7 separate regions of the Homo sapiens genome follow, and all the other regions are linked to region 3. Evidence: promoter capture Hi-C in 16 types of primary human blood cells and fetal thymus (Javierre and others, 2016). All regions are on one chromosome and are shown on one strand. The core of a region is centred on a gene start or on the middle of the fragment in contact, and the rest is flanking DNA. Distances in the headings are between cores, read along the strand shown.

Region 1 (3,117 bases), core at 578-3,077, 6.0 Mb after region 3:
GCTACAGAATACAACAGATTATATGTTTTTTCTCCAGTTTCCTAATTTTACAATGAAGTCTCTTTATAAGCTTTGGGTACATGAAATTTAGTCCTGGAAATATATTCACATCATATATGTTGATTTAAATGGAAAATATTCTACTAATTTATCAATAATTGATTGAGTATTGCTAATCTGAAATTTTTGTCTGAGTCTTTATAAAGACTCTATTTGTAAAGTACCAAACTACATTTGAGGAACTTTTTGGACATTTACAAATATTCTTATTTCTCGGATGCTTGGCTTGAAGGTCTGTGTGGGGAAAAGATGTTTCGGAAGCACTTTTCACCTGTTGTGCTACTTCTGATGTACTTTTTTTATAGGCTTATCTTCTTTCTTTTTTGTTACTTAATGATATAAATTTCTGGTGCTTCTTTCAAAATTTTACTGCTATTTTATTTCTGTTAGTGACTTAAACTAAAAAATTTTAACATGTAGTTTATAATCATACTTAATTGATTTCATATAGGCTGTGCAACAAGTTATTACTAACCTGCTAATTGGGCAGATAGAGCTTCGTTCTGAAGATTCTCCAGATATTTTGACATATTCTCATGAAAGAAAAGTTGAAAAGCTTATTGTTCCGCTTGGTGAAGAACTTGCAGCCATCCAAAAGACCTATATCCAGGTAAACCATTTTTATGACATTTAGGGATTTCATAAATAAACTGGTAATTGAATTATTTCAGCTAACAGGATTTGGATGTGATAATATAGTTATCTTATTTTTATATAATTGATATGTTGAAAAAATTCTTTGAAGTTAAAATTTTTGGAATGAGCACTGTGTTTTGTATGTACTAGCAAACTGTTATTGAAAGGGAAAATACAAAAGATGGGCCATTTGTAAAGCAAATAATAGCCTTACATGGTTTTGTATTTTTTTAAGTAAACCTTATAACTGGAATATAGAACATGCACACACACACACACACACACACAAACAGCAAAAGTAGACAAAGCATAAGTGTATTGCTCAGTGAATTTTCACAAATTGCACACACCCGTAACATGAACACGTACTGAGATTCAGCCAGAAGTTTCTTTGTTTTCTTTTTGTTGTTTTTTGTTCAGCTCACTGCAGCTTCCACCTCCCTGGTTCAAGCAGTTCTCCTTAGCCTCCCAAGTAGCTGGGATTACAGGCACATGCTACCACATCTGGCTAATTTTTATATTTTTGAATAGAGACGAGGTTTCACCTTGTTGGCCAAGCTGGTCTTGAACTCCTGACCTCAAGTGATTTTCCTGCCCCGACCTCCCAAAGTGCTGGGATTACAGGTGTAAGCCACCATGCGCCCGGCCCCCAGAAGTTTCTTTGTATTGAAATATATTTTCACTGTTGTCCTCCCTGATCTTTATGCAGCAGTGCTTTTCATCTGGAAATTACTTCACCTACCTGGCAACATTTGGCAATGACTTGACACATTTTTGGTTCTTACAACAACAACAACAACAACAAAAAGGCAGGAGAGAAGGGGGAGGTAACAGGTGAAATGTGGAGTTATTATTGGCATCTAGTATATGGAGGCCAGGAATCAGCTAAACATCCTACAATGGATAGGACAGCAACCCCACAACAAAGAATTATCTGGCTCAAATGTCAATATTATAGCTGTTAAGGACCTGCTTAGACAATTGTCATTTTCACTGGGAGAAATTTGTGGTAACACATTGTTTTTCTGTAGTTCATAATTAGTGTCATGGTTGAACAACATGGTTTCACATTTTCATTGCCATGGATTAAAGATGGTTACAGAAATAGATAACCAAAAAGTTATCTGTCACTTAATCTATAGTAAGCCTTTCTTAAAGAGACATTTTGTAGTAATACAGCTTTTTTGTTTTTAAATTGTTTGTAACAAAATTCTAAGCATTATTGAGTTAAGATATGGCAAAGTCTTTTTGTAATTGTCTCTTTGATACTAGTGCATTTTTAATTGAAAATCATTCCATTTATAACAATGTAAATATGATAATTCTTATAATCATATACAAATGTAATTTAATTTTGTTAGTATTTTTAGAGTGCCTTATTAGGCAGTATGATCAGCAAAGTTGGAAGGGAGGAAAAAAAATGTATTAAACTAGCCATAATTTAGAAAATACAAATTAGGCAAAAATTTAAACACTTACATACTGCGGTAGTAGGTCTTCATCTATAGGTCTCCTTTTGTGCCATTAAGCTCATTTCCGCCTCAGGACTTTTTGTTTGCTGTCTCCTCTCTCTGGAATCCTTTGTCCTTAGAACCTCACATGGTAGACATACCTTATCATTCACATGTGAACTCAAATGTTCTCTTCTCAAAGAGAGTCTTTGTTCACCTTATTTAATAATGATCCCTTTCCTCTCAAAGACTCTACAGCATTATTGTGTTTTAGATTCTTAAATGCATTTGTTATAATGAAAATGATCTACTTTCTTTGTTCGCTTCTTTATTCTTCGGTTCCCTCCATTGGAATGTAAACTATATGAGAGCAGTGACAAATAAAGTCTTAGCCACACTATCCCCAGCATTTAGAACAGTGCCTGTTACATAGTAGATGGTTAATAAATATTTGTTGAAAAAAATGCATCAGTGAGTAAAATTAAATATATTCAGGACATTTCAATTTATTCAGTACTTTACAAACTACTCTACAAATATCTGCTGAGGACCTAAGTGCCAAACTGGTCTAGATACTGAGGATGTAACAGTGCAGAAATCAAAGGTCTTCGTTCATGGTACTTACACTTAGATTATAGTGTGTGTAGGTTGAGAGAGAGAGGAGTTAAGAAATAAACAGATAAACGAATGTGTTGTTAAATTACAGTTGTATATAATAATTGCTTATGTTGATTTTTATATGGATATTATTTGGGGATAGATGTCAAGTAGTTTTAAATGTTATCATTGCTGAGTTTACTTAAACATTCATTGTAAGACAAACTTTATTAAATATATAATTCCTATTTTAATATGTGAGAAAATGATTGTACTTGAAAAAGGACTTTAGAGCAAGCTTAAACTAGATTGCTTTTAAATTTGCAGATTTTGGAATCATTTGCTCGTTCTTTGATTCAGAGGAATGTTTTGA
Region 2 (3,313 bases), core at 596-3,095, 6.2 Mb after region 3:
TTGAGACAGGGTCTCTGTCGCCCAAGCTAGAGTGTGGTAGCACAATCTTGGCTCACTACAGTCTCTGCCTCCCAGGCTCAAAGGATCCTTCCATCTCAGCCTCAGGATTAGCTGGGACAACAGGCACATACCATCATGCCCAGGTAAATTTTGTATTTTTTGGTAGAGATGGGATTTCATCATGTTGCCTAGGCTGGTCTCTAATTTCCAGGCTCCAGCGATCCACCCTCCTCAGCCTCCCAGAGTGCTGGGATTACAAGTGTGAGCCACCATGTGTGGCCTGAAATTATATTCTTAGTAACTATTGTCATCCTACAGTGATATAGAAAACTAGAACTTCTTATTCTTATCTAGCTGTAATTTTATAACCTTTAACAAATCTCTCCTTATCCCTCCCTTCTCCCTATCATTCCCAGCCTCTAGTATCCTGTATTCTACTTTTTACTTCTATGAGATGAAATTTTTTAGCTTCCACATATAAGTGAGAACGTGTGATGTTTAATGTTTTGTTCCTGGCTTATTTTTCTTAACATAATGTCCTCCAGCTCCATCTATGTTGTTGCAAATGACAAGATTTCATTCTTTTTTTATAGTTTAATAGTATTCCATTTGTATATACCACATTTTCTTTATCCATTCATTTGTTGTTGAACCCCAGGTGGATTCTAAATCTTGGCTATTGTGAATAATGCTGTAACAAACATGCAAGTACAGTTGTCTCTTAGATATACTAATTTCCTTTCATTTGGATAAATGCCCAATAGTGGGACTGCTGGATTATATGGTACTTCTGTTTGTAGTTGTTTTAGGAACCTCCATCGTATTTTCAATAGTGGCTCTACTGGTTTACATTTCCACAAACAGTGTTTTAAGAGTTCCCTTTCCTCCACATCCATGCCAGAATCTGCTTTTTTTTGTCTTTTTGATGATAGCCGTTCTAACTGGGGTGAAATAAAACCTCATTGTGCTTTTTATTTGCATTTCCCTGATGATTAGTGATGTTGGGCATTTTGTCATGTGTTTCTTGGCGCGCTCTCTCTCTCTCTCTCTCTCTCTCTCTCTTTCTCTCTCACTCTTGCTCTTGCTCTGTTGCCCAGGCTGGAGTGCAGTTGCACAATCTCAGCACACTGCAGCCTCCACCTCCCAGGTTCAAACAATTATCCTGCCTCAGCCTCCCAAGTGGCTGGGACTACAGGTGAGTGTCACTATGCTCGGCTAATTTTTGTATTTTTTCCTAGAAGAGACTGGGTTTCACCATGTTGGCCAGGCTGGTTTTGAACTCCTGGCTTCAAGTGATCCACCTGCCTTGGCCTCCCAAAGTGCTGGATTACAGGTGTGAGCCACCGTGCCCAGCCTGCCATTTTTATATATCTTTTAAGAAATGTCTGTTCAGATCATTTACTCATTTGAAAATCAGATTGTATTTTTGTGCTATTGAGGTGTTTGAGTTCCTTGTATATTCTGGATATTAATCACTTGTCACATGAGTTATTTGCAAATATTTTCTCTCATTTTCTGGTTTGTCTTTTCATTCTGTTGATTGCTTTTTAGTTATATATAATCTCATGTATTTATTTTTGCTTTTATTGCCTGTACTTTTGAGGGCTTATAAAATTTTCCCAGACCAATATTCTGAAGCAGTTCACCTATGTTTTCTTCTAGTAGTTTTATATTTTCAGGTCTTCCATTTATGTATTTGATCCATTTTGAGTAGATTTTTGTATAGGGTGAGAGATGAAGTCTAGTTTTATTCTTCTGCATATGGAGATGCAGTTTTCCCAAGACCATATATTGAAGAGACCATCCTTTCTCCCAATGAGTGTTCTTGGCATCTGTGTCAAAGATTAGTTGATTGTAGATTGTAGATATGTGAATTAATTTCTGGGTTCTCTATTCTGTTCCATTGGTCTATGTGTCTGTTTTTATGCCAGTACCATGCTGTTTTGGTTATTACAGCTTTGTAGTATATTTTACAGTCTGGTAGTGTGAAACCTCCAACTTTGTGCTCAGGATTGCTTTGTTTTTTGTGGTTCTATACAAATTTTAGGATTTTTTTTCTATTTCTGTGAAGAATGTCATTGATATTTTGATGGAATCTGCAGATTGCTTTAGATAGTAAGTTGCTCCTTTTTTTTTTTTTTTTTTTTTGAGACACAGTCTCACTCTGTCACCCAGGCTGGAGTGCGTTGGCACAATCATGGATCACTGCAGCCTTGACCTCGCAGTATAAGTTAACCCCCCGACCTCAGCTTCCTAAGTAACTGGGATGATAGACATGTGCCACAGTGCCTGGCTAGTTTTTGTATTTTATTTTGGTAGAGACAGAGTTTTGCCATGTTGTCCGGGCTGGTCTGGAACTCCCAGCCTCAAGTGGTCTGCCCACTTTCTTGGTTCAGCATTTTCTTGGTTGCTGTAGACCTTTGGCTATTCTCCAGAGCTATCTTGACTCACTACAACCTCCGCCTCCTGGGTTCAAGTGATTCTCGTGCTTCAGCCACTCAAGTAGCTGGTACTACAGGTGTGCACCACCATGCCCAGCTAATTTTTGTATTTTTAGTAGAGACAGGGTTTTGCCATGTTGCCCAGGCTGGTCTCAGACTTCTGGCCTCAAGTCTCCCCCACCTTGGCCTTACAAAGTGCTGGAATTGCAGGCATGAACCACCATGCCCAGCCCTAATCATTTTTTTTTTTATCTCTAATATTGCCATTTAAAGAAAGTTGTATAAGCAAAATCATTATACCTGTAACCTTTTGAGATTGGCGCTTTTTCCCCCCACTTAGTATAATGCCCTTGTATCCAAGTTGTGTGTATCAATAGTTTTGATAGTTTCCTTTTATTGACAGATATACCCACAATTTGTTTAACCATTCATCTATTGATGGGCATTTTGATTATTTCCAGTTTTTTTTTTGCTATTACAAATATAACTGTTATGAAAAATCATAAGATTTTATGTGGACTTAAGTTTCACTTCTCTGGGATAAATGCCCAGGATGGCAATTTCTGGGTAACGTGAGAAGTATTTAGTGTTTTAAAAAAACTGTTAAATTATTTTCCAGAGTGGCTGTACCATTTTGCATTCCTACCAGCAGCAGTATGTGAGTGATCCAGGTTGTTCACATTCTCACCAACATTTGAGTTTTAGAATGATCACTTTGACAGTGTGTGGAGAATTGATTAGAAGTGGATGGCATTCTAGATGAGAATTCTGTCTCAGAAATTTTTGTAGTTGTTATGGTGAGACATGATGAGGGCCTAACCCAAACTCTGAAAGTGGGGATGGGCAGATTGGAGAGAAGTTAAGGGAATGAG
Region 3 (3,060 bases), core at 291-2,790:
ATATCTAATTGAAAATGTACTTGCCAAGTAAATTTGAGTTCCTTCCAATTACATGTATTTGTTAGTTGCCAATTAAATTTGTCTCCTACTTTTCACTTCCAAAATCCTCAATGAATTGTCTTCTTATGATCTTGGACAATTAACCTCTCTGAATCCTGTTTTTCTCATCAGCAAAATAAGAGACTTGGACTAGAAAATCACAAGGTCCCATCTAACTCTAAAATTCTGTAAGTCAATTAAAAATAGCTGGACTCTGGCCGGGCGCAGTGGCTCATGCCTGTGATCCCAGCACTTTGGGAGGCCGAGGCGGGCGGATCACCTGAGGTCAGGAGTTCGAGACCAGCCTGGCCAACATGGTGAAACCCCGTCTCTACTAAAGATACAAAAATTAGCCGGGCATAGTAGCTCGCCCCTGTAATCCCAGCTACTCGGGAGGCTGAAGCAGGAGAATCGCTTGAACCAGGGAGGCGGAGGTTGCAGTGAGCCGAGATTGCGCCACTGCACTCCAGCCTGGGCGACAAAGCAAGACTCCGTCTCAGAAAAAAAAAAAATAGCTGGACTTCTGAAATGATGTTCATTCACTACCAGAGGAGAAAGAGAAGGAAAACTCAACATGCATTTATATTTAAATCTAAAACCTTTTTAAACCAAGTTAATTTGGCTAGTTATCCATGGCTTTGGACGGTAGAGGTTGAGGGAGTTCAAGTGAAAACGAGAATTCCACATCCCCACTTCAGTGATTGATGTAGATTTACTATGACCTTCCTCAGGCAGTACCTTTACCACCAAATCGGGAAACACTACCTACCGTAGAAAGAAAGCCCAGTGAGATAGGGCTGGTCCTGCTGGAAAACTGAACTCTTTGTAATCAAAACCCAAGGCATTATCTTTACCAAGCTCTTTTCCCCTTTAACCCCTTTAACTTCCAAGGCTGAATTACGGTGACGTAGTCAATTGGGTTCAAAGTCTAGGACACTCCATATCTGGCAAGGAATGAAACAGTAAGTCCAAGGGCCCAGAGGCGATGATGGACTTGGGTGGAGGTGGGTGGCCCAGGAGGTGGGGGTGGGTGCTGGGCGAGATGCTCGAACCACCGTTTTCCACATCTTTCCACCTAATCCAGGGGAGCTGGAGGAGGCCGGGCCCCCGGCCCCGGCAGAGCGAAGTGGGTGAGAGGGTGGCAAGCTCAGCACTCAACGCTCCCCGCGCCGGACCGGGCCTCAGCCTCCAGCACACCTCGCTGGCCCCGGGGCACCGAGAGGGCAGAGCCGGGACCACCCCAGGATCCCAGCCCCCAGCCCGCCGCCGCCAGCCCGCCCCCGCTCCCCGCTGCGCACCTGCGGTCCCCCAGGAGCGGAGACGAGGCGGCCCTTTCCTCACTGTCCCCCTGCAGGACCCGTCGCAGCCTCCGCTTTGCAAAATCTGTCCTCTCCGCCCAGCAGGAGCAGTCCGTGGCACCGCAATCAGGGGTGGCGCCACCCCGCCCCGGGCCTCAGCGAAGACCTCCGCCCGGCCAACATGGCTGGCGCCGCCTCTGCCACGTCAAGAGGAGGGGACGGGGCGTGAGGGCAGGAAGGGGGCAGGAAGGGGCGGGCGCAGAGTTACCAGGGCAGGCCACCGGACCCCTGAGCTTGCTTAATAACCGGAGGATTTGAGAAAGGCGCGCGGCGGGCGAAGGTACCGAGAGGGGAGGAGGGAGGAGAGGTAGCGGGGACCGAGCCAGAGGGGCGGAAGAACCCGGAAGACCCAGGCAGCCGGACGGCCGAGGGGCGTGGGACCGGGCAGAGCGGGACCGGGAGAGAGCGCCTTTCCCAGCTCCCTAAAGCCACAGCGTATCCCACTCCCTGCAGGTCGCAGAAAGAGTGGAGAACTGGTGCCACTCGGACACCTTAGCTCACCGAGAGAAATGGAGACGGCCTCCAGGACATCTTAGGACCCTGGTTGATTCCGAGAATCACAAATCACATCTCTGAAAAAAGTGAAAAGTTCATTCTTTCACTTAGTGCAACAAATGTTTACTGAAACTTACTATGTGCCAGACACAATTGAGATGCTGGTAATATGATGCAGGCAAAGTAGGCCCAGATCCCTGGCCCGAAAGAATTCACGTACTATTTATGTATTTTAGTCAGCCTGTCTTTTCCTCCTACATTGCCTCTGCCACTTCAACTCTGTCTCCCCCCACCCCCAAAACACACACACAGTACAATATTTGGCTGATTCATCTTGATATGTTCAATGTTTTTCTTTCCAAGAAAAAAGTTGAACAAAATGAGAAAGCAACAGATTGGTAAGACATTAGAGCTTGGTGGTCTCAGACAACCCCTTCCTTCAGTGAGGGGAATGAAATTAAGTGCCCATGGAATTAATTGCATATATGACAACGCCTAAAAGCCTGCAAAGTTTAGCCATATCAACATTTTATGGAATGGAAAAAAAGATCAAGTCCCTGTCCTTGAAAGCTCATATTCATGAGAAATAAGACAGCAGCACCAGGCTGGGCGCGGTGGCTCACGCCTGTAATCCCAACACTTTGGGAGGCGGAGGCAGGCGGATCACAAGGTAAGGAGTTCGAGACCAGCCTGGCCAACATAGTGAAACACCGTCTCTACTAAAAATACAAAAATTAGCCGGGTGTGGTGGCACGCTCCTGTAGTCCCAGCTACTCGGGAGGATGAGGCAGAAGAATTGCTTGAACCCGGGAGGCGGAGGTTGCAGTGAGCCGAGACCACGCCATTGCACTCCAGCCTGGGTGACAGAGTGAGACTGTCTCAAAAAAAAAAGCACCAAACATATTTCCCTTTCTATAATGTGTGTACTAAAGTTGTTTTGGAAGGTGGAAGAGGATGTTTGCTTGTCAAATTGTAATACAATCCTGAAGAGGGCAATGGGAATCGAAAGCCAAAAATTAGTGTAGGCTTCCAAATAAAGTAGGTTCAAGGTGCTACCTTAATGAAGATTCTTAACAGCACACAGCAGAGGTGTTGTTATAAAGGTGGAATAAGTACACCCACCAAAAGCGACAAGATCTAAGAATGAGTAGGATAAAAAGATCTTAGT
Region 4 (3,413 bases), core at 723-3,222, 6.1 Mb after region 3:
AGCAGAGATCGCGCCACTTCACTCCAGCCTGGGCGACAGAGCAAGACTCCGTCTCAAAAATAAATAAATAAAATAAAATAAAATAAAAGAATATTTTCTACTTTCCTTTAAGTCTTCTTCTTTGACCCACAGATTAGTTATACGTATTAATAAGTTATTTAATTTTCAACCACTTGGAAATTTTCCTATCTTTATTTTATTGATTTGTAGTTTAATTCAATTATCATCAGAGAATATGCTTTGTATGATTTCAGCTATTTTAAATCTGTTAAGAGGTTTTATGATCTATCTTGATGAATGATCAACCTATCCTTGGAAATAACCTATTCTTTTTCTTATTATTGGGTGGAATGTTCTGTAAATGTGAATCATACGAATGACTGATGGTGTTGTTCAGTTCTATATCCCTGCTAATTTTCAGTCAGTTCTATCAAATACCAAGAGAGGAGCAGTGTGGTTTCCTATAACTGTGGATTTGACTATCCTTGTAGTTTAGTCCGCTGCTTTCACTTGTCAGTTTTTAACTCATGTATTTTGAGGTTTTATTGTCAGGTGCATACACACTTAGGAATTTCATGCCTTCCTGGTGACTGACCCTTCTATCATTTGTAATGTCTTTCTTTATTCCTGGTTATTTTCTTCCTACTAAAGTCTATTTTGACAGATATTAATATAGCCACTCAAGCTTTCTTTTGATTTGTGTTTAGACGGTATTTTTCTATCCTTTTAACCTACCTATATCATTATATTTAAAGTGAGTTTGTTGTATACAGCATATAGTTAGATCATGTTTTTAAATTCATTCTGACAATATGTCTTTTAATTGGTATGTTTAGACCATTTAATTTAATTATGTTGGATTTAGGTCAATAATTTTATTATTTGTTTTCTGCTTGTTCCATGTAAAAAAATCCTCCACTTCTCTTCTTCTTTGCCTTCTTTTGGGCTATTTGATTTTCCAGTATTTTAATTTATGTTTGAAATTATTTCTTTGTATAGTTTTTTTAGAAGTTGCTCTAGGGATGACATTAAATATACTTAACTTCAACAGTCTACTTAGAATCAATATTTTACTGCTTCAAGTGAAATGTTAATATTTTTATTTTAGCAGGTCATCAACCTGGTGGTATCCCAAGCTATACGTTCAGTCTACTATCATTGTTGTTTCAATGTCAGTTTCATTTTTCAAAGCTCTGCAGTGCTGTTAGGATCTTCCTGTGTGTGGGACACTGAGTAGCTAGCCTAGAAACTGGGTGTGGTCTACTGTTTAGTTCAGTTCTCAGTCTTTTATATGCTCTTTAGGACCATGTCCACATATGTACAACTCCTGGGTGGCATAGAAGTTCATAAACAACTTTATGGGGTTGCTTTTCCTACTTCCTCTCTTTCCGCGATTTCTGGTTCCCTGGAGTTTCCCTTGTCAGTGCTCTGGCCAGAAAGCTGGGGCTTTTATTACTCTGCTCTGCTGTATGCCTCACACAACTGAATTTTTGTCCAGTACCAAGCAACAGACAACAGAAAGAGAACAGAAGCAACAGGTACTTGCCCCACTACTTTGAGGCAACCATTCCTAATTGTAGAGAAGGTTCTCATCTCTCAGAGTTTTAGATATATCTCAGCCCCAGCTGATGCTGTGACTGTAGCCCCTGCAGGATTGCATGGGGACTGAGTTAAGAGAAAAGACAAAAACAAAACAAAACAAAACAAAACAAAACAAAAACAAACCAAACCAAACACTGGGGATTTCCTCTACTGTTTCTGAGTGTCAGAAGTCCCCCTTTCTGCTCCTCAACCCAGAACTGGAGAGCTCCTCTTTAAACTCTCTTTGTTACCCTTCAGTGCCCACTTCTAGGTTTCTAGTATCCTTGAGTCTCACTTGTGGGGCACCAAACTTTACTATTTATAACACTTGTTAGGCCGGGCACGGTGGCTTATGCCTATAATCCCAGCACTTTGGGAAGCCAAGGTGGGCGGATCATTAGGTCAGGAGTTCAAGACCAGCCTGACCAACATGGTGAAACCTCATCTCTACTAAAAATATAAAAATTAGCCAGGCGTGGCAGCGTGCGCCTGTAGTCCCAGCTACTCAGGAGGCTGAGGCAGGAGAATCGCTTGAACCCGGGAGGCAGAGGTTGCAGTAACCGGGATTGTGGCATTGCACTCCAGACGGGGCAGCAGGGCGAGACTCCGTCTCAATCAAAACAAAACAAAACAAAAAACAAAAAAATGCATTTCTTAAAATATGAAGCTACGTGAGAGAGTACTATTTGGCTATCTTGAAATATTACATGGGAATGAAAAGGTCACTTTTACTTTCCTCATACTTAGGCTTTCCTCGTACTTTCCTCGTATTAGAGATGACCACAAAAATACCACTAGGAGTTATGTGTAGTCTATCTCCATTCCCTGTGCAAATTATAATTTCTCCCTTTTTTTTAATGACATCTTCCATGTTAACCCCTTATTGCTATTTTTATGTCTTTAACTGTCTTGTGGCTGCTCTGTAGATATTTCGGAATGAAATCTAACTACTTACCAATGAAGTTTCTGTAACTCCTTCTCATTCCATTCCTTATCCTGAATTAAACCAGGTAAGCATTCTAAGGGATGCCTATTTGTCTTATCAGATCCTACTGCCTCAGTAATTGGAAACTCTTTCCTAACACCAGACTTCTGAAGAGTTTCTTTGACGGAAGGTCTAGCTTTCTTTTGTTTGATATAAAATTCATTTTCACTTTCTTCAGTTTCAGGTTCCAAAATCACTGGAATATTACTTGTGTTTCTTGTGCTCTTTCTCAGGTGAACCACTGCTTCTTTGGTGTTTCCTGCTTTGGTTTTCTTAACTTCAGCTTTCCTTTTAATTTCCTTTTCTGTTTCACTTTCTTCACTTGACAAATCTGGTGAGGACTGATGCTTATAAAATGACATAGCTACCTGATTTTCTATTTTCTTCAATTTTGGTAATAGTCTGGTATTTTTCTTAAAGTCAGAGGTGAGCATTTGTTCCTTTTCAAGGTTAGATATTTTTATTTTCCGGTTGACAGTAAGTAAGTCACGTTCATCGCAATCTTCCTTGTTTTTACTTTTATGACCTTCAAATGTATTTTCTAAAGTCCCCATGGACTTGCTGATGGGACTTTTTTTTTGACACTCTGGTATTACAAAATCTGTTACTGCTTTGATGGTGCCAGCGGACAGATTATACCTCATGCATCTTTGCTCTATCACTTTTCTAGATTTAAGTGGTGTTACTAAAATATAAGCTTTCTTCTGATTGATGGCCATGTATTTTCTTTCTTCATCTGAGAAAAACTGTTCCCTTGAGGTTAGAATATCAATGGATACATCCAATTCTTCAGTTGTCTCTTTAATTTCATAAGACAAAACCAAAGACCAAAATCTCAAATTAGCTA
Region 5 (3,200 bases), core at 419-2,918, 6.1 Mb after region 3:
ACTATGACACTGGAAATACAGCCTAGAGAGTGCGTGTAGGTAGAAAAACAATTTCTAGGGCTGATCTGCAGTAATTCCAACATTTTTAGGACTGATTCTGGGGAAAGAAAGAGGAAATAGCAAAGAGGACTGAGAAGGGATGGGCAGCAATGTAGCAGAAAATCAGGAACGATCCTGGAATACAAAATATAAAGCGTAACACTTCTTTAGAAAGACATTTTGGGGCCAGGCGTGGTGGCTCACACCTGTAATCATTTCCTTTTACTTTAGGTGGTAAGGACATTGCCCTTTCAATTGCCCCCTCAATTTTCTCCCTACCTACACGCACTCTCTAGGCTGTATTTCCAGTGTCATAGTTTTAAATTCCATCTCTATGCTGATAGCTCTCCAATATGTTTCCAGCACAGAATATTCTTCTCAACTCCAACCATGAATACACAGACCTCTTTCAAATGTCTTGCTATATAAGGGAAACAAAAAGTAGTGTAGCAGCTGGAGTTGGACAGGGGATAAAGGAAAGATGGGCCTTTGTTTGCATGTTTTTAAAAAATGCAGGCCATGTTTCAACATGTTTATATGTTAATGAGAATAATCCAAAAAAAAAAAAATTTAGCCGGGCATGGCAGCATGTGCCTGTAGTCCCAGCCACTCAGGAGGCTGAGGCAGGAGATTTGCATGAACCTGGAAGGCGGAGGTTGCAATGAGCTGAGATTGTGCCACTGCACTCCAGCCTGGGTGACAGAGTGAGACTCTGTCTCCAAAATAAATAAATAAATAGATAGATAAATAAATAAAGTTTAAATATTTTCCAATAATGGGATTTCTAGCGAATATATTGAGATATAAAACCATAACTGGTATGTCACTCTTTAAAATTTAGATGGCTACAAGGGAGGCTTAAGTGGGAGGATTGCTTGAGCCCAAAAGGCTGGCCTGGGCAACAGAGTAAGGCCTCATTTAAAAAATTAATTATTAATTAAAATTTAGATGGAATTTATACATGATCTCAACTTGATAACCACCATCATACATTTAAGAATTAATGGCTGGATGCAGTGGCTCACGCCTCTAATCCCGGCACTTTGGGAGGCCGAGGCGGGAGGATCACTTGAGGTCAGGAGTCAGAGACCAGCTTGGCCAGCACGGTAAAACCCCGTCTCTACTAAAAACACAAAAATTAGCTGGGCATGGTGGCAGGCGCCTGTAATCCCAGCTACTCAGGAGGGTGAAGTAGGAGAATCGCTTGAACCCAGGAAGTGGAGGTTGCAGTGAGCCAAGACCACGCCATTGTGCTCCAGCCTGGGTGACAGAGGAAGACTCCAGCTCAAAAATAATTAATTAATTAATGGGCAAACCTCTAACAATTGGAAATTTTACACTGCATCTTCCTCCTTAAGCTTGTATTTCCATTCCACTTCCTTCAGAGAATTTGTCCTAATGTAACAGTTTAATGCTCTAAAGTCTTTCATTGATTACTCTGTATTTAATTTGGGAAAAATTCTCAAATCTTCAGATGCTACAGTTCCTTTCTATCTTAATTAATCTAACTATTTTAATAGTACTGTAAGTATCAGAAAAAAAAGAGTAGGAATGAATTCAATGTTCATCACCAAAAGGAACAAGTAAATTATTGAAGACTACACAACTAGTAATAGAGCAAAATAAGACTTAACATGTGGGTCTTCTTACATTCAACTCACTGTTCTTTTCACTATGTCACACTGTCACTGCAGTAAATAATAAAACATGATAATGAAGACACTGTTAATAATGAAGCATACAGGTTCAAATCCTAGCTAGAAAAAAAATAATGAGAGAACATTAAAAGCTCAAGCTCTTGAAGAACGGGGTAAAAATAGAAATAAATATCTGTCTTAAAAGTTTTCCCACCTGATTTTTTTTAAGTCCATTTGTAACAGTTTGAAATATTCTTGGAGGAGAAAGCTTTGAAATATTTCTTTTTGACCTCCGAGGTATTGTTATATGAAGTCTTGGTGTTGCAAGTACAATTTTACATGTATCTTTCATGGAACCTGGAAGACCTGTCTCTCCAGGCACTGTTTTTCCATTTCCTTCCTTAACTTTCTGTTGCGAAGTCCCTTCTGTTGTCCTCTCACTATCAGAAACCATTAACAGGCTGCCATTTTTAATAGGAATACAATTAGTACTGAGAGTCTCAGCATTAGTATTTTGAAATTGTTCATCAGCAGAATCAACGCTTTCTAAAACAAACGTGTCCTTTTTGGATTTAGTGGTTGCAACTATACTCTCCTTTGAGTGAAAAATTTGTTTAGCCAACTGAGCTCTAGTTAATGTCTTGTTTCGGGCTTCTACAGCCAAAAAATTTTCCTGTTCTTGGTTCAGAGTTGGAAGTTCTGCAAAAAATACAAAACAAAACAAAACAAAACAATTATAGAAGGATCACAGGAAATTAAAAGAGATAAATTTAGGTTAGGAACGTTCCACCCTCCTGCCCAGTCTTTCTCTGAGTGTCTCTTTTACGATTCAAGCTTTTGTCCACAGCTAAAGTTTAATGCCCACACAAGGAAAGTAATTACCTAGAACATTTAACAATATACTTAAGTAACAAACTGAAAACAAACCAAAAATAGTTTACCGTAAGTTAAATTGTGCAGTGGTGCTTTCTTTTCCTGCTGGCACTGAATCTTTTGTTTGACCGGGAGGAAAATATCATTATTTGATGATTCTAGAGGAACTCCTTGGACTGAGGCTAAGGTTTTATTTTTTAAAGAAAGAAGAAGTTGAATTGTATTAGTCACTAAGAAAAAAACAGCTTTTAAAATTCTTGAAATAAAGACACTTAGATTTAGTAATGATCAGACCAGTATAGTACTTTTGCAATATATGACAGTTACATATATTTTTATATTTTTGGCTGTATTATCTTCTCATACCTTTACCCCATTCTCTATACCAACATTACGGTGAGGAAGAATTTTTTAAAACCTTCTCTGAACACAACCCGCCAGCTCTAGACAAAAGTATTGGACTTAGAAACCTAGAGATCTGAAATTCTGGTGCTGCCACAAATTGGATATGTATATGTTAAGATTACAATATAAAGTTTCACCCAGTCTTGAAAATTCCGATTCTGTTTCTGGTTGCTGTGAATTTCTAAAGCATGAAAGATAGTCGAAGAATTGTAACTTATTCTTTAAAAATTAAAATGTTGAGATGCA
Region 6 (3,320 bases), core at 779-3,278, 6.1 Mb after region 3:
GTTACCTTTCTCAAATATCTTGAGATATTTGCACTATGAAAGTGAGAAAAAATGTTTATTTTTTGGATTTTACTTAATCTCTGAAGTGGGTTTTAAACAATCATAAAAATCATATAACTAACATTTGGAAGGAACCTTGGGAGTCATGTGGTCCAATTACTTATCAAGGTAGGAATGCTTCTGCATCATTCTTGTTTTAAATGCATAGCCAGTCTCAACTTGAATACCTCTGTTAATATAAATTATATTTCTTTAGAGGGTTCATTCCATTGTTGAACGGCCCTGTATAGTAGAAGACTCTTACGCTGAAAAATCTGTGTCTTTGTACCTTTTTCTCATTGATCTGGTTTCTTAGATAAAAAGTACAGTTTTCATCTTTGGTTTACCTTTATAACAGTTCTCTATATATTTGAAGGCCATACCTTTTATGTTTGTTCAACTGTTTGTTCCACTGTTGTCATACCATGCATTTTTAAGGTTCTTACCCTCCTACTACTTGCTTTCAATTCAGATTTGTTAATGTTCTTTCCCTTAACTCAGAGCCGTCAATCAATGTTTTTTTGGCTATGTCTATTAAACTTAATACAAATGCACTTAATAGGAACATACCTGTCATTTTTCAAGATTTTGCCAATTATTTGGTTAAAATAAAAACACAGCATGTCTTTTGAGTTTTCTTGAATTTGATAAATTAATAAAAGCATCAAAACTTGATTAGGTTGGATAAATCATTTTTAGTGATCATTATATTTTTTATAGTTGCTAATTAATCTTATATTTAATAATTATTTCTAAAATGTTACTGAGGTCGATGGCAAATTCTTTAGTGAATATCTGGAACCTATCCTTTTAAAAAATTGAGATAATGTTAACTTATGTTCATTTTTCTATACTTGTTTCTTCCCCTTTTCTCTGATTTTTCAAGTGTCAAAGATTTATCTTAGATTATGTGATTTATGTATGGAATAATTCTATAATTCTGTACTAGTATATAAATACACTAGTGTATTTATACTAATATATAAAATATATACTAGTGTATTTACTATGTATTTTGCTAATGTATGCTAACTATATACTAGTGTTTATACATAGTATATATTTTATATATATTAAAATATATAGTATATATTATATACTATATATAGTATATGTAGTATTATATATAGTGTATTTGTAGTATATATTATATACACTAGTATGTAATTCATCTGAGCTTAGAGCTCTGAATTGACTATTTTTTATTTTATTTTATTTTTTTGAGACAGTCTCGTGTTGTCGCCCAGGCTGGAGTGCAGTGGCATGATCTCGGCTCACTGCAACCTCTACCTCCCAGGTTCAAGCAATTCTCCTGCCTCAGCCTCCCAAGTAGCTGGGATTACAGGCACATGCCACCACACCTGGCTCATTTTTACGTTTTTAGTAGAGACGGGGTTTCTCCGTGTTGGCCAGGCTGGTCTTGAACTCCTGACTTCAGGTGATCCACCTACCTAGGCCTCCCAAAGTGCTGGGATTACAGGCATGAGCCACTGTACCCAGCCACTCTGAGTTTATTTTAAGGGACTGGGGGTACCTGCCTATTTCGAAATCTTAGAGTCTCTGGATGTCAGGTCTGAAAGGGGCCTGAGAGATCATTTAGTTCAAACCCCCTTATTTTACAGATGAGGAAACAGATGCAGAGAAGCCTTTTATTTATTTATTTGTTTTTTTTTTTTCATTTTTAATTTTTTATTTTTTACATTTTTAAAAAGCTTCTTACACAAGTTTGGAATACCTGAGACATGATCCTAGCTCATCATGAAGCCTCAACTCCTGGGCTTAAGAGATCCTCCTGTCAGCCTCCTGTGTGGCTAGGACTACAGGGATGCAACACCATGCCCAGCTAATTTTATTTTATTTTTTTAGACTTGGGGTCAAGCTGTGTTGCCTAGGCTGGACTCAAACTCCTGGCCTTAATTGATCCTCCCTCCTCGGCCTCCCAAGGAGGAGGTGTCAGCCACTGCACCCAGCCAGTTTCCTGATTTTTAATTCAGTAGCGTCTCAATTTTTCTGCTCTCATCTGTATTAGCCAGAGTTACTGCTTTGTACTATTTAGCCTTTTCAGTTTGGTGATTCTTAGAGATTATAGAAGCTGAAAAGAATGAATATACTATACATATTTTTAAAAGTCTATTATGTCCTTTTTTAAAGCAACAAGTCTGTTCCCCCTACACTTTACTCATTTTGCCCCAACCCCCATTTAAGACTTAAGATACATACTCCTTTTAAAAGTCTTGGCCTTTCCTGCCCACTCTCAACACCCCCACCAAGCTTCAGATGAACTTTCCAATACTGCTATGATAGAATCATAATACCAGTTTTTCATTTGTGAGTTATCTTACTCTGTTTCATGCCAGGTCTTAGGCAACCAAATGAAAAGAGTCCAAAAGAAGCCAGGACTGAGAGCCAAGGTACCTGGCTCTGTTCTGTTAATGGATTCATTACCAAAGGATAGCTCCTAGACAGATGGGTACTTTCAGAGGTAAGAGAAGTTTAGGAGACATTTAGAAGCATGAAGTAATAAACTGAGTGGTTTTTTATGAAGAATACTAGTTTTAAGGAATAGAATCAAGGCTGAGGTAGGATCAGTTGAGCCCAGGAGTTTGAGACCAACCTGGGCAACATATCAAGACTTCATCTCTACAAAAAATAAGAAAAGTAGATGGGCCTGGTGGCATGAGCCTGTATTCCAGCTCCTGTGGAGGCTGAGGCAGGAGGATTGCTTGAACCCAGGAGTTTGAGGTTACAGTGAGTTATGAATGTGCTGTTGCACTCCAACCTGGGTGACAGAGTTTGAATGGATATTGTGGGTTTTTTTGCTTTGCAGATTTTTAAAAAGTCTCTTTTCCATTATTTTTTCAACTTATAGGAATGAGGCAAAGTAGCCTAAAGAAAGATTGGTTCTTATCAGAAGAAGAATTTAAATTATGGAACAGACTTTATAGATTAAGGGACAGTGATGAAATTAAAGAGATAACATTGCCTCAAGTTCAGTTTTCTTCTTTACAAAATGAGGAAAACAAACCAGTAAGTTGAATATATTTTCAGATGTTCTTTTCCCCCCCCTCATTTTAATGCCAGAACCCCTCAGATGTTCTTTATAATGATCAAGCAATAGCTTTGGGAATAATGAGATAATTGTGATTGGAATGTCAACTTACTTTAAGAAATTAAGAATGTAATCAGTGTAAGAAATCATTAAAGTCTAAGTTTACAAAACTACTAATTTTCTTCTATTATTTATTGTATATATGTATTTAACCAACTGTGATATTTTTACA
Region 7 (2,996 bases), core at 183-2,682, 6.0 Mb after region 3:
AATGCTTGAAAATGGAAAAGGAATGAACGTTTAAAATAAAAGGAAGATGTTTGAGAGCATTAGTCCTGAAGGAGACATGAGAAAGAAAAAGGGACGCAAAGATTCAGAGAAATTTTAAGCTCAGAAGAAGGGAATGGCAATGGCTAGACATTCACATTTTGGCACTACAGAACACAGGAGCATATAATGAGAAGGGAGTCCAGGGGCAGTGGCTCACGCCTGTAATCCCAACACTTTGGAAGGCCTAGGTGGGCGGATAACTTGAGGTCAGGAGTTCAAGACCAGCCCAGCCAACATGGAGAAACTGCGTCTCTATTAAAAATACAAAAATCAGCTGGGCATGGTGGCGCCTGCCTGGAGTCCCAGCTACTGGGGAGGCTGAGGCAGGAGAATCACTTGAACCCAGGAGGGGGAGGTTGCTGTGAACCAAGATGGCACCACTGCACTCCAGCCTGGGTGAGACTTTGTCTCAAAGACAAAAACAAAAACAAAAAAAGAGAAAGGAGTAAGAAGGGACTGAGAATTTGTGAGAAAATGTCAAATACTTTATGTGAGCAATGAGCAATGTGATGGAGAACTGGGCAAAGGATAGTATAAATGTTGTTGAGTAGCAATGAAACTAGAAAACATGCTTGGCTAATATTAAGCATGAATTTATACCAGGCTCAATAAAAGGTTTTATGATTATATGTTTATAATGCCTGCTCTCCAGTCCCAAAGCATGAAGACAGAGAGTAGACAACGAGGGTTAGCAAGGAAATGGACAAGAGGCTTTTGAATGTAGGACGCTAGGAAAACAGTCACAGTACATAAATGGGCTCAAGCTGGCCAGTTAAACGAAGAGGTTTTAAATAAAATGATAGAGTTTAGGACCCTCATAAGCTTGCTCTAGATTGTCTCTAGCTCTTATGAATTTACCTTTTATTTTCTTAACTCCTTAATGAAATATTATCTGTCTCCTAAAACCATCCTCATTCTAATTTCCTGGAGGGTGAACTATGTTGCCAGTTGCTTCTGAAACCCTTCAATAATAATTGCTCCATTTACCTTAGTAGCTACTCAATAGATATAACATTTATTAAATATTAATTGTGATAAACTTTAAAACTGCTTTGTGTGCACATATACCTATAAACATTAATTTGTGCTTTTTAGCCAATAGGAAAAGATCATGCAAAATTAACTAGCTTTAATCAAATAAACATCTATAATTGTATAACTGAACTTACACTTTCCACAAATACCCAAAAGCTACACTGTCATCAATAGCCTCACCTCTTTACAAGAACTAAAAATAGATTATTATCACTGATACTAAGACTGCTGGCAATGAGTGAGCTTAGATAGTAAGGTATTATCAGAAATGACAAGATTATAATCAATTCAGCTCTGCTAAGTCAGTTCTTAGTAGCTGATCTTAGCTCTACTAAGGCTGTCAATTTGCAGGAATGAATTAATCTGGTTCTTCAAACCTTTGTACCAAAGTATAAAACCTGAGTTGGGAAAACTGAGACAGATGAACCCACATCCTGCAGCCAAGCCTGGATTATTTCTATTGCCAGGGACACCATGTACATTAGAAAAAGCTAAAAATAATCAAAAGAAAATGTATTTCACTTAGTCCAACTTGGCTATAGAATCAAGGCCTTAAAATAGCTTTGAAAGCTCAGAAGGTCTGGACAGATGTGGAGGCGATATTAAATACAATATCAGAAGTGTTTCACAGAATAGGCTAATAACTGTAAAGCACTAGTTCTTAGGATTATTTCTGTCCCAGTACACCTAAGGGAAATGGCCCACTACATTAAGTGTTTGGCTCATTGAAAGTGGTCGTATTCAACCACCCTTCACTATGAGAAGTTAGTGCAAATAATAAAGAAATAAATACAATTTCTAGACTCCACATGATAAAATAAAAAAATAATTATATACAGACCTCATCCAGGGTCTCTTCAGACTTGGTTTCTTTGGGTTTATCTTCATTAAGCTTCACATTTTTTACTTGCTCAGACACTTTACTTATACTTTCAGTACCCTTAAAACGCTGTAAGGAAAATGTTGTAACATCATACCCAGGACAGGCTAAAACCAAGAAGCAACATCAAGATTTTCAGCCTCTCAATTAAATGAACATCTGCATAATAAATATAGGTTGTATAACACAATTGTGAATAAATGGTCTAAGGAAACGAAGAGCAAAGAAAGAATTTTGCTCATAATTTATTTTTAAACAATAAATGATTACCCTCAAACCAGCTTACAATATAAATTCTGAAATGAGAACCATGACCTTAGAAAGGCCAACTCATACCCAGAGATATAAGCACTATTCAAATAACTCCTAAATAAAGATTTCTTTCCTGTGGAAGATATTCATTTCATAGTAAACAAATGTGGGAGAATGTCTTAAAATGTATTTTTGTAAAGCTCAGCCTAAATCTAAACCAGACTTTAAATTCATTAGTGAAATGGAAACTTATTTTCAATATAACATTTAACATATATAATAAAACAACAACAAAATACATTTAATATACACCATATGCTAAAGTAATACGGTAATACCACTGACCTAATGAATTTATAACTTCAGTGGACTTAAGAATTTGTTGTCTCAATTTAAGCTACAAAATCCAGACCCTTTGAAAATACTGAAACATTCTGCCATACTGCAGATTAGCCTTGCTAGATTTGACAGCTAGTCCACTTATGATAACAGTTCAGAAAAATTACAGGTGGAAAAGCTCCAACACATTCAACAAATCAATGCATTTTAAACATCTTTTTTGGAAATAAAATTTCAAAAGTGATGTTCTGCTAACAGAATCTAACAATACTCACCTTAGTTTCAAAAAGATGGTTATAGGCTGTAACCAAGTGGTCCTTGTTAGCTGTCTTGGCCACATTTTTAATGTTTCCTAATAATTTATGTTCTGCAAGAAACTATAAGGAAAAAAGCTGGGTAATCAAGATAACTTCTCCCGAGTAAGAAGTGT

The links. The method cuts DNA at HindIII sites, captures the fragments that hold promoters and counts their contacts. A CHiCAGO score of 5 or more calls a contact.
Region 1: a fragment that was not itself captured here is called in contact with the fragment with the promoter of SEC23A in region 3 in 3 of 17 cell types (naive CD8 T cells, total CD4 T cells and naive CD4 T cells); the score reaches 11.7 in naive CD8 T cells.
Region 2: a contact is called between a fragment that was not itself captured here and the fragment with the promoter of SEC23A in region 3, in 2 of 17 cell types (total CD8 T cells and non-activated CD4 T cells). The highest score is 5.4, in total CD8 T cells.
Region 4: a contact is called between a fragment that was not itself captured here and the fragment with the promoter of SEC23A in region 3, in 3 of 17 cell types (total B cells, non-activated CD4 T cells and M1 macrophages). The highest score is 10.2, in total B cells.
Region 5: a fragment that was not itself captured here is called in contact with the fragment with the promoter of SEC23A in region 3 in 4 of 17 cell types (non-activated CD4 T cells, naive B cells, M2 macrophages and 1 more); the score reaches 13.0 in non-activated CD4 T cells.
Region 6: a fragment that was not itself captured here is called in contact with the fragment with the promoter of SEC23A in region 3 in 4 of 17 cell types (total B cells, naive CD8 T cells, activated CD4 T cells and 1 more); the score reaches 10.2 in total B cells.
Region 7: a contact is called between a fragment that was not itself captured here and the fragment with the promoter of SEC23A in region 3, in 11 of 17 cell types (total B cells, non-activated CD4 T cells, total CD4 T cells and 8 more). The highest score is 25.4, in total B cells.

Annotation. Positions count from the first base shown.
Region 1 is chr14:45,148,326-45,151,442 of GRCh38, forward strand. It overlaps FANCM (FA complementation group M), which reads left to right. Exons shown (of 23, transcript NM_020937.4): 4 at 512-670; 5 at 3,072-3,117. Among named protein-coding and RNA genes, the nearest start is that of FANCM, 14 kb to the left of the region's middle. The HindIII fragment of the contact is 2,426 bases long and covers 615-3,040 here.
Region 2 is chr14:45,261,802-45,265,114 of GRCh38, forward strand. LOC107984674 (a long non-coding RNA gene) reads left to right here. Exons shown (of 4, transcript XR_001750746.2): 2 at 10-143. Among named protein-coding and RNA genes, the nearest start is that of MIS18BP1, 10 kb to the left of the region's middle. The HindIII fragment of the contact is 4,164 bases long and covers 1-3,313 here.
Region 3 is chr14:39,101,695-39,104,754 of GRCh38, forward strand. SEC23A (SEC23 homolog A, COPII component) reads right to left here and starts at 1,541. Exons shown (of 20, transcript NM_006364.4): 1 at 1,338-1,541. It overlaps SEC23A-AS1 (SEC23A antisense RNA 1), which reads left to right and starts at 1,446. Exons shown (of 2, transcript NR_146545.1): 1 at 1,446-1,677; 2 at 1,851-2,118. RefSeq lists silencers at 1,147-1,226, 1,247-1,366, 1,527-1,756. The HindIII fragment of the contact is 19,881 bases long and covers 1-3,060 here.
Region 4 is chr14:45,221,382-45,224,794 of GRCh38, forward strand. It overlaps MIS18BP1 (MIS18 binding protein 1), which reads right to left. Exons shown (of 17, transcript NM_018353.5): 11 at 2,537-3,365. Among named protein-coding and RNA genes, the nearest start is that of MIS18BP1, 30 kb to the right of the region's middle. RefSeq lists an enhancer at 1,509-1,558. The HindIII fragment of the contact is 2,578 bases long and covers 684-3,261 here.
Region 5 is chr14:45,240,144-45,243,343 of GRCh38, forward strand. MIS18BP1 (MIS18 binding protein 1) reads right to left here. Exons shown (of 17, transcript NM_018353.5): 3 at 2,618-2,731; 4 at 1,891-2,375. Among named protein-coding and RNA genes, the nearest start is that of MIS18BP1, 11 kb to the right of the region's middle. The HindIII fragment of the contact is 547 bases long and covers 1,396-1,942 here.
Region 6 is chr14:45,167,681-45,171,000 of GRCh38, forward strand. It overlaps FANCM (FA complementation group M), which reads left to right. Exons shown (of 23, transcript NM_020937.4): 12 at 2,909-3,066. Among named protein-coding and RNA genes, the nearest start is that of FANCM, 33 kb to the left of the region's middle. The HindIII fragment of the contact is 559 bases long and covers 1,750-2,308 here.
Region 7 is chr14:45,127,858-45,130,853 of GRCh38, forward strand. It overlaps FKBP3 (FKBP prolyl isomerase 3), which reads right to left. Exons shown (of 7, transcript NM_002013.4): 2 at 2,842-2,943; 3 at 1,937-2,044. Among named protein-coding and RNA genes, the nearest start is that of FKBP3, 5.1 kb to the right of the region's middle. The HindIII fragment of the contact is 1,105 bases long and covers 881-1,985 here.